5 separate regions of the Homo sapiens genome follow, and all the other regions are linked to region 1. The links are contacts of gene promoters, found by promoter capture Hi-C in blood cells and fetal thymus (Javierre and others, 2016). All regions are on one chromosome and are shown on one strand. Each heading gives the region's core, a stretch centred on a gene start or on the middle of the fragment in contact. The rest is flanking DNA. Distances are from core to core; before and after follow the strand shown.

Evidence for each region. Contacts are between HindIII fragments. The CHiCAGO score rates a contact against its expected background, and 5 or more counts as called.
Region 2: a contact is called between a fragment that was not itself captured here and the fragment with the promoter of MECOM in region 1, in 2 of 17 cell types (fetal thymus and endothelial precursors). The highest score is 5.8, in fetal thymus.
Region 3: a fragment that was not itself captured here is called in contact with the fragment with the promoter of MECOM in region 1 in 1 of 17 cell types (endothelial precursors); the score reaches 6.4 in endothelial precursors.
Region 4: a fragment that was not itself captured here is called in contact with the fragment with the promoter of MECOM in region 1 in 1 of 17 cell types (endothelial precursors); the score reaches 5.6 in endothelial precursors.
Region 5: a contact is called between a fragment that was not itself captured here and the fragment with the promoter of MECOM in region 1, in 2 of 17 cell types (megakaryocytes and endothelial precursors). The highest score is 7.2, in megakaryocytes.

The regions. Positions count from the first base shown.
Region 1 is chr3:169,662,296-169,665,208 of GRCh38, forward strand. It overlaps MECOM (MDS1 and EVI1 complex locus), which reads right to left and starts at 1,417. Exons shown (of 17, transcript NM_004991.4): 1 at 1,041-1,417. The coding sequence starts at 1,077. RefSeq lists a silencer at 309-408. The HindIII fragment of the contact is 2,702 bases long and covers 1-1,638 here.
Region 2 is chr3:169,159,318-169,162,230 of GRCh38, forward strand. All of the region lies in intron 2 of MECOM (MDS1 and EVI1 complex locus), which reads right to left. Among named protein-coding and RNA genes, the nearest start is that of LINC01997, 160 kb to the left of the region's middle. The HindIII fragment of the contact is 3,396 bases long and covers 1-2,913 here.
Region 3 is chr3:169,228,558-169,231,470 of GRCh38, forward strand. The region is part of intron 2 of MECOM (MDS1 and EVI1 complex locus); the gene reads right to left. Among named protein-coding and RNA genes, the nearest start is that of MECOM-AS1, 220 kb to the right of the region's middle. The HindIII fragment of the contact is 2,158 bases long and covers 477-2,634 here.
Region 4 is chr3:169,285,755-169,288,667 of GRCh38, forward strand. The region is part of intron 2 of MECOM (MDS1 and EVI1 complex locus); the gene reads right to left. Among named protein-coding and RNA genes, the nearest start is that of MECOM-AS1, 160 kb to the right of the region's middle. The HindIII fragment of the contact is 5,133 bases long and covers 1-2,913 here.
Region 5 is chr3:169,387,538-169,390,450 of GRCh38, forward strand. The region is part of intron 1 of MECOM (MDS1 and EVI1 complex locus); the gene reads right to left. Among named protein-coding and RNA genes, the nearest start is that of MECOM-AS1, 59 kb to the right of the region's middle. The HindIII fragment of the contact is 409 bases long and covers 1,282-1,690 here.

The DNA of each region.
Region 1 (2,913 bases), core at 167-2,666:
GCCGGAGGCTGCGCTGCGCCCTCTCCGCGGCCCAACGCTCTGGCAGCCCGCCCCCTGGGGTTTGCTCGGCGCCCAGCAAGCCCGAGGTGCGCGGGTCGCAGCGCGCCCTCTCTGCCTCCTGCTCCTAGGCTGCCGCCGCTGGCTGTGTGCCCTCCACTCCCGGCTCTCCGAGCGCTCGCTGGGCCTCTTCTCTCCCCACGTCCGAGCGCTCGCTGGGCCTCTTTCCTCCCCACCTGCGCGTGGCTGTGCGGAGCCGGTAGCTCTGCTCTGCCCGTGCCCCCGCCCCCACCCCGCGATCACAGCCCCCACCTTGGTGTCCCCTACTCCCCGCCGCAGTCCTCCCGCCGCGCAGCGCCGCGCCGGAGAGCATGGCCGAGCGCACAGCGCCCACTACCGCAGCCGCGGCTCGGCGCAGTCCACCCGCCCGCCCGCGCAACTTCCAGCGGCCGCCTCGCAACTTTTCCCAAGTCCACCACAGCCGCCCGCCGCCGCCGCCACTGTGGCTCCCTCTGAGCCGCCTACCCTACCCAAACCCCAGAAACAAACCGAGGCTCGAAAAGGCTCCCTTCTCCTGCCGGCCCCCCATCCCCCGCGCCCCCCTCCTCCCACACCCGGGACTAGCTGGTTGGCCAGAGGCAACTCTCCCCCGCCTGGGGGGAAGGGGAGGGGAGGGGGAGACTTTCTCCTCTTCTCTTCCCCCCCACCCCACCCCTTCGCGCTCACTCTCGCGCTCTCTCCTCCCTCCCACCCCTAGTCTTTGCTGCCCCCACCCCCACCCCCACCCCGGGGTTGCCACAGCTGGTCGGTGCGCGGGACTGAGGGCTGCCCAGGCTCCTCCGGCGCCCAACCCGGGAGCGAGAGCGCGGGCGACCGGGAGCAGAGACTGGAACCGGCAGGTTGCTGGGGCTGCGCTCCGCCTGCCCTCCACCCGGGGCCCCGGCGCAAGAGGCAGCCCGCGCTCCCTCCCGGAGCGCTAGAGACAGATATGCAAGATGGCAGAGGAGGGGGAAAAGCCAATAGAAAAGGGATATTGCACCTACTTGTGGCCAGTTTCCTTGCCCTGCCTTTGGATCTCATGCTGTGCCCAGTCCTGCAGCCGCTGGTGTGTGGTTGGGGCTTTTTTTTCTTGGATCCTTTCCTTCTTTTGCTCTCCCTCTCGCTCCCTCCCTCTCTCTCCTGTCTCTCTCTCTCTCTCTCTCTCTCTCTCTCTCTCTCTCTCTCTCTCTCTCTCTCTCCCTCCCTCCTGTTTCTCTCCTGTTTCTCTCTCTCTTCCACACACTCACTCTCTGTATTTTCTTCTTTCACTCTCTCTCCCTCCCTCTCTCCCTTTCTCTCAATCCACACTCGCTATCTCTCCAGCATTGTCAGTTTGGACACCTTCGCACATGCGCGCTAGACGCCCCTCCAACATCTCAGCGCCGCCAAAAAAAGTTTGGAGCGATTTATCACTTTGATTTGGAGATCTTGTCAGATGGCAATCGCCGAGGAGGCGGAGAAAGGGAGCCGCGGGGAGGGCGGCGGGGGGCGGGGAGCGAACGCAGGGAGCCAGAGGGGAGCAGACACCTCGCCCAAAAAAAGGGGAGGGGGGAATTGAAAAGGCTTGGGCAGAGGATTGATTCCATGTTAGAATCGCCAACAAGCTTGTATCATGATTATTGTTATTGTTTTTCCCACCATAAATTGCAGACATTTTTCTATACCATCTACGAGGGAAGCAAGAAGCCAGGGGGGAAAAAAACTTTAAAAACATTTTTTAAAAACCCTTCTCCTGTTAAAGAACTAGAAGGGCTGGACCCTCGGCTAATAATCCAGGAGAAAGTGAGAATCATCCTGAACTTGAGAAATCTACTGCTGCCGCTGCTACTGCTACTGAAGCTATTGCAGCTTCCGCTTTCAGGGTTGTAAGCAGAATAAATAACTGGTTTTTTCCTCGATTTTAGCTGTAATACCAATGCTTGCTGCCATCCTTGGGACATTTCAGTATTCTTTCCCTACCAAGTAGTAATGATCACCCTTGATTCCCGGGTCCGGGCCGGCGCTGGCATTTGACATCCAAAGACCTCCTGCTTTCTCAGAGGTCGGCTGTCACCTTCCGGCCTCCCCCACTGCTGCCCCGGTCGCCTCCCGATGCAGCTCTGCTTGCCTGCCATTTTCACTCACTCGCTTAAACCTACAACCTCGGGGTCAAAAGAAAGAGGAGTAGGGAGGAAAATCACACACTCTTAAAAAAATACATTGTTGAAATTTCCTTTAATTACAGGATTTACCAATGAAGTGCCACTCAGAAATGGGAATTCCTAAAGGGGCTAGCTGTGTACAAGGTATGAATCAATCCCAACTAGGTATAGATTTTCTTTTGGTACAACCTTCTTGCATTAAACAGTTTTGTTCAATACCTTCCATGTGCTATTTATGTCCCCATTAATATCTGTTGCAAATCCTGCCAGACACCATAAAAGAAAATTACAATCTTTTCAGTCTCCGTGCTGCAACAATACATCCTTGATGTTCAAGTTAAAGGAAAAGAAAAGCAGGTCCTGGGCATGAGTTTGGCAAAGGCTGTGGAGGGAAAGGGGAATCATTGAGAATGCCCAGTCGTACCTGTTGGTATTTATTATCAAATCTAGGACTGCAGACATGAGAGAGCAAATAACAAGGTTCAACCCCAAAGGGTATCAATGGCCTGCAAATCTCTTTATTCAAGAGAATCAAAGTTCAAAGAATTTGTCCTTGTTAAGGATGCCTACCATTTTCCTTTATCCAGAGCTGTGTAATTCTGGGGGCATTTGGCTGTAAGATAGAGGTCCCTGGAGAACCAAGCTACAGGTCTCAAGGGAGACAGATGTATAAGGTTGAAATGTGAGGAAGGGAAGTAGGAAGGTAAAGGAGGGAATTACTCACAACAGGAGTAAA
Region 2 (2,913 bases), core at 229-2,728, 500 kb before region 1:
GGGACGCCAAGGTGGGCAGATCACGAGGTCAGGAGTTTGAGACGAGCCTGACCAACATAGTGAAACCCTGTCTCTACTAAAAATACAAAAAATTAGCTGGGCATGGTGGTGGGCACCTGTAATCCCAGCTGCTTGGGAGGCTGAGGCAGGAGAATTGCTTGAACCCGGGAGGCAGAAGTTGCGGCGAGCCAAGATCACGCCACTGCATCCAGCCCGGGCAACAGTGCGAGATTCCGTCTCAAAAAAATAAATAAATAAAATTGCAATAATGGGACTTCTAAGAAGTTATTAGGGTTAAACAATTGAGGTGAAGTATATAAAGCACTTAGTGTAATATCTGGTAAATAGAGACTCATAAAGAAGTACAGTACTTGGAGAGATAGCATAAATCCAAATAAAAATTTTAAAAAAGAAGTTTAGGATAGTGACTAACAACACAGAATCTGCAGTGGGGCAGCCTGGATTCAAATCACAGCTTCGCTATGTGCTTGGGGTGTGACATATGTAAAGTTACTTATCAGCTTGGTTTCCTCCTTTGTAAAATGAGTATAATGATAAAAAGTATCTCATAGGGCTATTGAGAGGATGAAATGAGGTAATCCATGCACAGCACTTAATTTAGTGTCTAGCACATACTAAGCACCTAATAAGCATGAGCTATTTTTAAATGGAGTTCTAACTCAATAAAATCGTTGGTACTTCCTATGCAAATGCCCTCTGTGGTTTTTTTTGTTGGTGGTGGATTTTTATATAGCCATCTTTATATCAAAAGAGAAACAAATATTTTGTCCCTTTAATTTATTTTCTGGTCACTCAGGCAGCAATTTGCTTCTGAGAAACAGAGATGGAAACATATAGAGCCAGAGAAGAATAACCAAAATAAGTGATAGGAATACAAATTCATAATGGTGTCTAAACACTAAGCCAGGAATTGCAATCCGAATGGGGAAAAACATTTTCTGAGAAAGGATTTTTTTGGAGACAGATAAAAAAAAAATGAAGAAAAATAAGAATCTTCAAAATTACGCTAGAAATGATATGTGTTTTTTAAAATAAACCTTGAACAGAAATTATGTTTAAACTACATTTTCCTCAATATTTGAAGTAAGCTAAATGAATAAGATCTAGTACTTGATAGCACAACAGGGTGACTACAGGGTGTAACTTTTAGTTATTTTTAAATGTACAATAATATATTGTATAATAATATATTAGTTATTTTAAATATATATTATATATTTAACAATAATATATTAGTTATTTTAAAATGTACAATATATTATTGTACAATATATTATTGTACATTTTAAAATAACTAAAATAATATATTGTACATTTTGAAATAACTAAAAGAGTATAACTGAGTTGTTTGTAAAACAAAAAAAGGCTGAATGCTTGAAGTTATTGATACCCTCATTTAACCTGATGATATTATTATGCATTATATGCCTGGATCAAAATATCTCATGTACCCCATAAATACATACACCTGCTATGTACCCACAAAAATTAAAAATTAAAAATGTTTTAAAAATATACATTTCTTCAGAATGTGGTAAAAAGAAGACAAAACATTCACAGAAAAGGAAGGACAATATACAAGATAAAACATTAGTGTGAATCCAGAGGACCTCAGTAGACGCTGTTCAATTTTGGGTGCAAAAATTGGTTCTGCTGGCTGGGAGTTTATGTTGCAAAGCAGGACAATGAGTTCAACACGTAAACCAACTTAGTTCAATTTGCTCCACAAGTATTTATGAGGAATCTTCTATATCCTGGCACATCATTTGACATTTAGTGTACATTGATGATTAAGTCATGGTCACCACCTTTAAGTAGCTTTAAAATCCAATGAAAAAAATCTATTGTGTTGGCCATTGGTTACATACCACACCCTATAGTTAGTCATAAGGGAACTGAACCATGCATGGATCCTGGGGAATCATTGCCACTACTGGGAAGACCAACCCTAATATAAGTGCTGGCAATGGCAGCTGAGCCTCAGCATCCTTATATACAGCAAGAGAGGCACAGTCTTATTTTTGCATTCTTACCTTGACACTGCCATCAAAAGGGGTCTGACCTGGATATTTACAAATTCCCTGAGCCAACAGTTCAGAATTTAGAGGATATGGACAGACCTAAAAGAAGACAAAAGACTTTTTTTTCCTGATTAAAAAAAATACTGGTCACAGATTAAAGACAAACCATTCACTCATTTATCCTCTCCATGTTCCAGGTACCACGTTGATGGTAAAGAGAGAAGATAAATATACTGAATACCCATCTGTGATGGTTTTAAAATATATTAAGAAATTTTAAATTTTCTCTCCCCTTCTTCAAAAAGTGGTCTAATTCTCCTCATGTTGAATATAAGCTGAGCTTAGTGACACACTTCCGATAAACAGAATGAGGAGAAAGGGATGCTATGTGAGTTTTGAAATTTGATTATAAAAAAGAAGAGTCTCTCTCTCTCTCTCTCTCCCTGTCATTCATGTTCTGTGGATATGATGCAGCCTGTAGAAAGGCCTATGCGGGGAACAATTAGGATGTGCCAGCTATGTGAAAGAGTGGCCTTGGAAAACAAATTATCCAGCCTCAGTCCCATTTTTAGGTGACTGAAGCTGCCATTTTCCCTGTGACCTGATGAGACCCTGGACCACAACTGCCCAGCTAGCTGAGCCACCCCTGAATTCCTAAACCATAGAAACTGAGAACACTAAATGTTTACTGTTGTTTTCAACCATTAAGTTTTGGGATAATTTGTGGGGCAGCAATAGATACCAAGCACACCAGCCACAGCTCTTTGGTGGATACGGAGAATTCAGTTGCCTGATGTCCTCAGACCATCAGAGAATAGCTCTGGGATATTTCCCTGGCCCCACAGCACTCTCTCTGATTCCTTGGCTTTTG
Region 3 (2,913 bases), core at 306-2,805, 430 kb before region 1:
GATAAAAATAGAAAAGAAATTTATGAAGGAAATTCAGAGATGTGATTATAACATCACATTAATGACATTACAATTAACCTCAAAGGCATTTCCATGCAAACTTCCCCTTCCAACGTAAGTCACTCCAGCCAAGGAATAATCCTGTCAGGCTGAAATACTGCATACTTGGTGTGAGTCTAAAAGTGTTTCGGCTTTCTTCATTTTGTTTTTATTGCCAAGTTGGACAGCATTAGACGGAGCTGTTCTGGAGTTAGAAGGATACAATAGTCTGCAGTTTTAAAAGTTTAAGGCTTTTTATGCTTTTAACTCAAACACACCTTTTAAATCCCAAATTGGGCCACTCTTGGAGCTCACTGTATGCACTGATATTTTGGCTCACTGGGTGTGATAACAATGGACACAGTGAAGATGTTATTCAAAGCTTTTAAAATAAAACACAAAAACACTTGATAAAATAATGCTGATTATATGGCCCAAGCTTTTCACACTCACATATACATGAGTGTTAACTGCACTGGCTTGGAAACACTGGTTCTGGCTTTCTAGTCAATGGTCCGTTTACTTACAGTAAAATCTTCCAGAGGGGTTCCATAAAAATCTGCTCTGCTGTAAAGAAAAGGCCAACCTTACCAACTCCTTATACAGGAACTGAAGAGATTCCTTAGGCCTGTTGGGACTGTGATTAAGTTTAGCTAGAAAGTGCCATCCACGCATGTGAGATGGTTGGTGACTACCAAACGGGCAAGTGGAGAGGCAGCCAGCAGACACCAAATAAGTCACAAGAGCATCTCAACTAAAATTTCTGAACCCAAAGGCTTATGAGACTGAGAAATTATATTCTCTGGTCAGTCATGAAACTTGCTGCTTGGTCTTCTGATCAGAGTTTCCAGGGACTGGCAAGGCTTAATCTTAAATCCATGGAGGGGCCGAGGTTACTATCCTGGGTCAGTGATGGTCACTAGCCAGGGAGTTAGGTGAGGGTCCTTAGAGATGAAAGAGGCCCATTGAGCTGAATGAGGTCTGGATTCTGGTTGTGAATTCTGTTTCTACTACTTTCAATGGCCCTGGTCCCCTCCTGCAGGTCATTTTTAAAAGCTAAGCCCAAAGTATCTGAGTGGCTTGGATAAGGTGGCTACTGTGAATATGCCCTCAAGATAGCACTCATGAGTGTGAGATTCTCTGCACTTCAGAAGCCTCTACAACCAGGTGCTATTATGCTTTAAAACACACTAATATAAGAGACTATGATTTCCTAATCAGTTTCATGGGTTATTTCTCTATTCTTTCAGCTACAATGTTTTTTCATGTCATAATATAATGTGGGTAAAAAATACTTGCAACATCAAGTTGATTAAACCAAAATAAAACTAAACAAAGAAAATTCCAAATAAAGGAAGATTAAAAATGCCAAACAGCAGACTTAATTGCATTTTTGAGTTATCTTTCTTTACTCCAATGTCAAGGAAGAATACTTCAGGGGGCTATTTAGGGATAATACTTGAATATACAAATACTCTCTTTGGATTTACTTCTATGTTTACAAAAAATTTCTCAGGTGTCTTGAGGCAGCTACCTCTTCTCATAAGCCACTAACTCCTATGTTCACCTCATTTCCCTCCAGGCCAGAACTTTGAGACCTCTGTCTACCATCTTGGCTTTTCTCTAAATTTCCTCTTTTAGTGCCAAAAAGAAAAAAAAAAGGTTCTGGATTGCAAGTTCCCTTTATCAACTTAGCCAGCTTTTTTCTTTCTTGAGATACATGGGATATGAAGCATCTTGCCTCCTTGATGTTATAATAATGCAGTGATTTCAACTTATACAGCTGACCTTAGCTTTTCTTTGAGATACCAGGTTAAAAGTGGGCAGATTTTATAAATAGGCCAGTCTTCCTAATGGAAGTTTGAATGTATCTCCAAGATACCAGTTCATTATGACTTAATTCTCGATTTTGTTATTGATTTATTAAAAAGATGCATAACAAGTATCTTTTAAATATCAAGCTCTAAAGTAAGTTTTCTCCTCTGAACTCCAACTCACACATATAACTATTTTCTGAAATGGTTTAATTCTGCTCTGAAAGAACCCACAGCAGTAGGAATAATAGGTTTAGCCTCAAGATTTCTGCTGAAGAGCAGAAAAGAGGCTTCTACCTTTCATGGCCCATGGTCTGACTTTTACCCAAGCCTACTTCAATTTTTAAATTTCCTAGATGGTCATTTTGAAGGTCAATCATTGGTTCACTTTCACAATGGAGAAGAATAGTTGCCGCAACATACAGAATTGTTTATCTTGCCCCCATTCCCCTCACATAAGATCTTCAATGGTTCCCCCACTTTATCATAACTTTGTTATTATCAAAATAACAACACAAATAGAAAATATATTGTCTTTTTAACTTTCACTTTTATTAACTTGCCATTCATAGACGTTTGTTTAAATACTCTCTCTTCTCTCATCCTTCATTCATCATAAGAAGCATGCCCTCTACAAAAGATTCCCAAAATATTCTTGGTGGAAATAAAATCTTTGACAATTCTGGATGTTATTGCATCTATAGTCTTGATCTCTCCAATTTCTTACAATTGTAGTCTTTTTCTGTTTTTCCTTTTGTTGTGTCTATTGAATAAAATTGGAAGCTTCTCAAATGTAGTGCATGCATAAAGTAAACATGTTGTTCATTCTTTCATTTATTCACTTTTTCATTCATGCATTCATTCACCCATAAAACATTTATTCAACACCTACTTGCACCAGACACCAGGCTAAATACTGGGGATAAGGAAGTCTACAAGACTCACAAGTTTCTTGACTTTCAGGAACTTATATTCTGGCAGGACAAGAAGGGAGAGGCACATCATAACAAGTAAATGTAAATAAACTAACAAGTTACTTACAACCTATGGTGAGTGAGAT
Region 4 (2,913 bases), core at 286-2,785, 380 kb before region 1:
TGGAGCTGGTTGTTATTTTCAAATAGCATGTGCTATGGTGTTTCCTTGGGGGAATGCATTCCAATTTCTTAATGGGGTGTAATCAGTAACATGTTTGCTTCAGGCCTTATAATGATGATGCTGTTAACTACATTCAACAAAAATCCTTTAAAACAGCTGTTTTCAACCAACTTTCGCTGTGAATGTACTTTTGTGTGTTTAATGTACTTGGCAAGCATTTGAAAAAGCCCTTGCCTACTGTTTTATTTGTTTCCATTTATGAAAACATGCATTCGCTGTGAAAATCAGATGCATTTGTAAAGTTATCAAGGAACCCATAAGAAAATCTACCCTCTCCTTGCCATCATCAGCAATTTCTGAATCATCCACAGTGAAATTCACTTCGAAGAAACTTCTGTGGATTTGTTTAACCATAAAATGATCAGTAGCTCTTCTTGAGGCAAGAACAGAATGAACGTATTTCTTGAACTAAGTTCTCTCAGGTTAAATGAGAGAGGGACCCAGTAGGGCTGCCTGGATGAGGTTCAGAAGCAAAGATTTCCTTCTAGGCAGCTTCCCCCTCTGCTACCTGGGTGATTCATACCCAAGTTGTTGACCAAGCCCTGTTGTCTCTATCACTTATTAGTCTTCCACTCTGAAATGCAAAACTTATCCTCGATGCAGAGCCTGAGTAAGAATAGAATACCTTCCCTTCTTGTAACATTATCCAGCCAGGAAACAGGCAGCATGTACTAATGGTTGGTTTAAGTCTGGTCTTTGTTTTCTGTCTTCCACGGTTGACAACGCTCCCTGCAAGGAATCAGGCCAAAATAAAACTGCCAACCACCATAGTGCATAAAATTGTAAAAGCAGGACAAAAAATTCCTTGCCATTTTTATGTCCACCACTCCCTAGATTAGAAAGGATTGTTGCTATATGATCAACGTATTAGGTTGTGTTGTTATAGGTATTTGTAGGAGTCAGGGTGTACAATTAAAAAACAAACAAGCAAACAGCAACAGACCCACATTACAGACATTTGCCTGCTACCTGGTGAGTCCTCAAAAGGGAGGTAGCCCGGCAATTCCAACGCCCCGAGAAGAACCCAGAAGCTGTTCTTTTCCAATTTGCCTCCCTTATTCTGATCTCATTTCCTCAGTGCTGAACTTATACCTTTATCTGAAATCACTGGGAAGGCAGCTACTTAAACAATAAGAGAAACTAGTGCATTGTTTAATTTGCCTCTTCCATGAGTCCTAAATAATAAATCTCACAACATTCCTTGTACTCGGTGTGATACTGAATGCCAAACCCCAGCTCGGCAGCTGGAGTCCTATTTCCTGGGCCCTCCGAAGATAGAAAATATCACATTTCTATTTCATTCGACCCTTTCTCTCTCTCTGTCATGCTTCGCTGCCTTTACAAGTCACCATTTCACTGTTGCCACAAAGATTACAAGGACCCTAACAGGTAAGGCCTCCAGGAAACACGGATGGAGAGGGCCTGAAAGAAAGGCAGAGGACTGCCAGGCTTATCTGCTCCCTATCTCACCATTGCTTACCACAGGGCCTGTCCACTGACAGCCAAGCTGTCCTGAGGCAACAGCTCAGTAATAAGATACACAACAAATAATGTTTTTTTTGTTTTGCTGGAAAAATATATACTCAGGTAATTAAATTGTTAACATGATGGATGACCTTATTTTATATTTGAATTCAAAGTGACTTTCTGTATCATTCAACTAAAATGGCTTGATGTTATTAAAAAAATAAAAAACAAAGCATAATTCCAGAGAAATGGGAATATAGATTTTTGTTGATTTACTTTAGAAACAAACATGGGTAGTTGTTACTGTGCTGGATTGTAATGTTTACTTGAAATGCATGAAGCTGGTGTTCAAATCCTATATTCATTTTTTTCATTCCTAATTATTTGTACAATTAGGAATTGTATTTTATGGATACAATTGTTGTATCCTTAAAAGTGAGGCCGTAAAAAAATTGTCAATAAATATGCTTTGGTTTATGCAGGAAGAGCAAGAACATATTAGAGATACCTACTGTTCAGAAGGTTCCAGAAGCAGGGCCCTTGTATAGGAGTTTAAAATGTTAATGGACATGCATTCCGCCCACGTTGAATCCCATACGACAATATGTTTTGTGCCCAGGGCATGATTCTGACTAAATCAATAAACCACTCTAAGTCTGATAAAAGTTTTACAAAATATCCAAGACATTTAGAGTAATTGTTAACATCTGCTCATTATTCAACAGTGTAAGCAGGTTTAGAAGCCAGATAAATATATTTATTCATCAGCAGCCAGCATGTCACTGCTACCTCAGTGGTGATATAAAACAGTAAGACATTAGAACTTGCCTTAGTCTTGGGTTCAGAGAATACAAATGAACCATTATGGAAAAAACAGAAAATTCTGCTTTCTCCATGTTTTACACTTGGGGGGTAGGGGGAGAAAGAGGAAAGAGGCAAGTTTTAGTAAAAAAAAAAAAAATCTTGATAATTTACTTTGAACTAAAAACCTGGGGAATAGGCAAGAAAAATAAATATAAGAAGTACAAATCTTAGAGAAGGAATCTGATACAAATCATTGCTACAACATAAAGAGTATCTTTCTTCTTTATTCTCCAAAACACAACTTAATTTTGATTTCTTCTTTCATTTCACAATATAAGAAAGTTATTTCTACACTGGAAGGTTAAAAATGGGCTTTTTGAATATAACATTGAAAAGGTTCTATCAGAATGAAATTAGTTCTTTGAGAATATTTAGCAATTGGCAGTTGATTTGTCCTGAACCAAAACGAGCAGCAGAGCCATCATTTAATAGTAACAAGAAAATACTAATCAAATCACATTCACGCTTATTGGGGTGGGGAGGCATCTGAAGTGGTATTCTATGGGGTTTTGTTGTTGTCTC
Region 5 (2,913 bases), core at 236-2,735, 270 kb before region 1:
ATTTTTCTCTCTACTCTTCACATTAGTTCATTGATAGAAAATATTCAGCAACTAAAAAGTTTAATATTAAGAGCATATATACATACTTTGACTATAAAGTAAGACTGATTTCTGTAGTTATTAAGAAGTTAATTATTTATACTCAACTGTACACATATATGCATATAATACACACATCCATGTGTATTTGCAATCTGTGTGTAGGGGTGTGTGTGTGTAATAGCTCCCTAATCTTAAAAATAGGCTGAGACAGAAACATGATTTGAGATCCCAGGCAGACTGGTTGAGATCATAACTACATGAAACAACTGCCAAGAGGAGCTCAACTAGGGAATTGAACAGATTAGGTAACTCAGAAATTTAGACATTTCCCCCCATTATGTTCCTCATTGCAGTTTTGTAATAAAAACATGAGCAAACTTCAAAGGAAGCTCTGTAGTAAAGGTTAATTGCTACTAAAGAAGAGGGTGGGCCCAAGCGCCAGTACTTTGTGCCCAACTTGCAAGCAGACAGGAAGGATTACACGTGGCTGAGAGCGGAGGATGTGTGCCCTGCTCTAGGAGGAGAACAGCTCGGCCAAACCTCAAAGCCCCACTAGGGACCTCCTGGTAGGACGTGAGCACATGAGCACAAGTCCATGAGCTGATGCCTGCTAACAGTGCGGCAGGGAAGGGAGGGGGAAGACATCAATTTCCTTACAAAATTAAAACTGGACATGCTCTTCTTCCCTTGTTAGGACAATTCCAGAGCAGTTACAGAGGCTTGTTTGTGAGAAAGCAGAGGACTTCGGGAGCCAGCTCTTCTGCACCAGTAACACAGTGAATAAACACGTGCTGGGCTTGGGGAAAAGGGTGGAGCTCAACTAATGCCAGATGCACAAACAGAACAAAGAAGGAGGCTATGAACTGGCCAGCAAAATCTTCTATGAGAATGGCCCCAAGATAATGAAATTTAAGATCCCAAAGAAACGAAGAAAGGAAACTAGTAAAAGTAGGGAAAATGAATTTCCAGAAAACTGACTTAAACAAGCTGTGAAGGACTGTAGCAAGGGTGCAGAATTACAGGCTTAGAAAACAGAGACATTGAATAGAATGGGAACTGCTGATGGGCATAGTCTTTAGCATGTCCTGCTCCAGAGGGGAGTGAGAAGAAAAGAGACTTAAATGGAGTGTTTGGACACTGGACTGAATCTGTAGAACCCGTGTCTCTAGATACGACCATTATGTTTGGAAATAATCTATCAACATGGCTTGGCACTAGAATTTTTTTAATGACCCTCTAAGCTTCCTTGCACTTTTAGTATTTGCTACTTCATAGTACCATGCTATTCCATGTCTTCCTTATGGAACTTTTCCCCAGTGTTTCCTAAAAATATTTCATATACGAGTTGTCAAAAAGACTCAGAATGGAAGTATTGGGGGCAAGATAGCAAGGGAGATGGCAAAGAATGTGATACGGATGGAAAATAAGGGACTAAATCAATGAGCAAACTTTTATTTTTCTCCTGGTATTGCGGCATACTGTTGCATGTCCTGTGGCTTTTAAATCTGGTTAAGAGATTTTCCACTCCTCTAGGAATTTCACAGACATTTCACTAAATAAATATGATTTGGGAATTAAACTAGTACTCCTAAGCTATTAAAAAATGGGCTTCGCCTCTTCCAAAACTTTCTCTTCAGAGATGGAACTAAGCTTTTGTCAAAAGGTAATGGAAAGAAATTGCTAGAAAATTCATACTTGAGGTACCAGTAAAGCCATTTGGTATCTAGTTACTGAATCTAAAAGAGCTAACGCAAAGACATTAAAGTTCTGTGAGTACTATTCCAAAGGAAAACATGAGCTGGTTAATGTTTGGCTTATTCTGTTGTTAAGGAGCCACCGTCACCAATATCCACTGGAATGACCAGGTAAGAACAGACTTATCACATATCAGATAGATAGTTTTTCTTTTATGTTTTAGCTATGTGCCTCTACTTTCTTTTGCCAGTACAAATTTTTGAGAGACTTTTAGCAACCTCTGATGGACCTGATGGGCTTTTTCTTCATAAGCTTTCTATGTCCCCAAAGTGATTTTCCTTCAGATTCATTTAGAGGAAAGTAGAACCGTCCTGAATTCATGCTGCAGCAGACTGGGTGGTTACTCCTCAGGCAATCTGAAATGACCAGAGTACAGCCTTTCAGTATTCCAGCCATATCTACAGTAATTATTTGCCAGCATATCTAAAAGAAGGCAGGCATTTCCTGTTGCACACAAATGGGACATTCTTATCTAAATTACTGTTTAAACAGGTATTTAAGAAAAGACTATCACAGTCAGGAATTTACTGATGACGGAACACATTAGTTTAGGGCTGGACACATTAGTTGAGGACTAACCATTGTCAAGAAAGGAAGTATATCAGCATCAGGAAGGTATAGAGAATATTTTACAACTCCCATATGGGTCAAGATGGAGGATTGTAAACTATGCCATTTGCATTTGGAGAAAGCAGGAGGGTCACAAGTCCTGGCATGGAGTTGTGCTTGCGTCAATATGTTGCTGAACCCTGGAGTAACCTTGAGAGGCAGAGGCTGAGAGTCATAGCTGCTTGGGGTCTCTGTTTCCCTATCCATAAAATAAGCATGTTGGACAAGTTCATCCCCAGGTCCATTCCACTCAAGCAATCCCAGTTCTACATAGTAGAAACCAGAAGGTGGTCAAAATTTGGTGTGCCAAAAGCTTATAAAATGTATTTCCTGGAAAGACACTCTGAGAATTGGTTTGGTCTCTCCCAACATGTAACCTAGGAGAGACTGTGCTCTAGCTGCCTAACCTTGCTCTAACCAGTGAAACTGGAATTTATTCCCAGTAGAGGCTTATAAAACTGGGCTGTTATTCTCACATTAAGTAGACTGCCCTCTGGTGAGGACTGT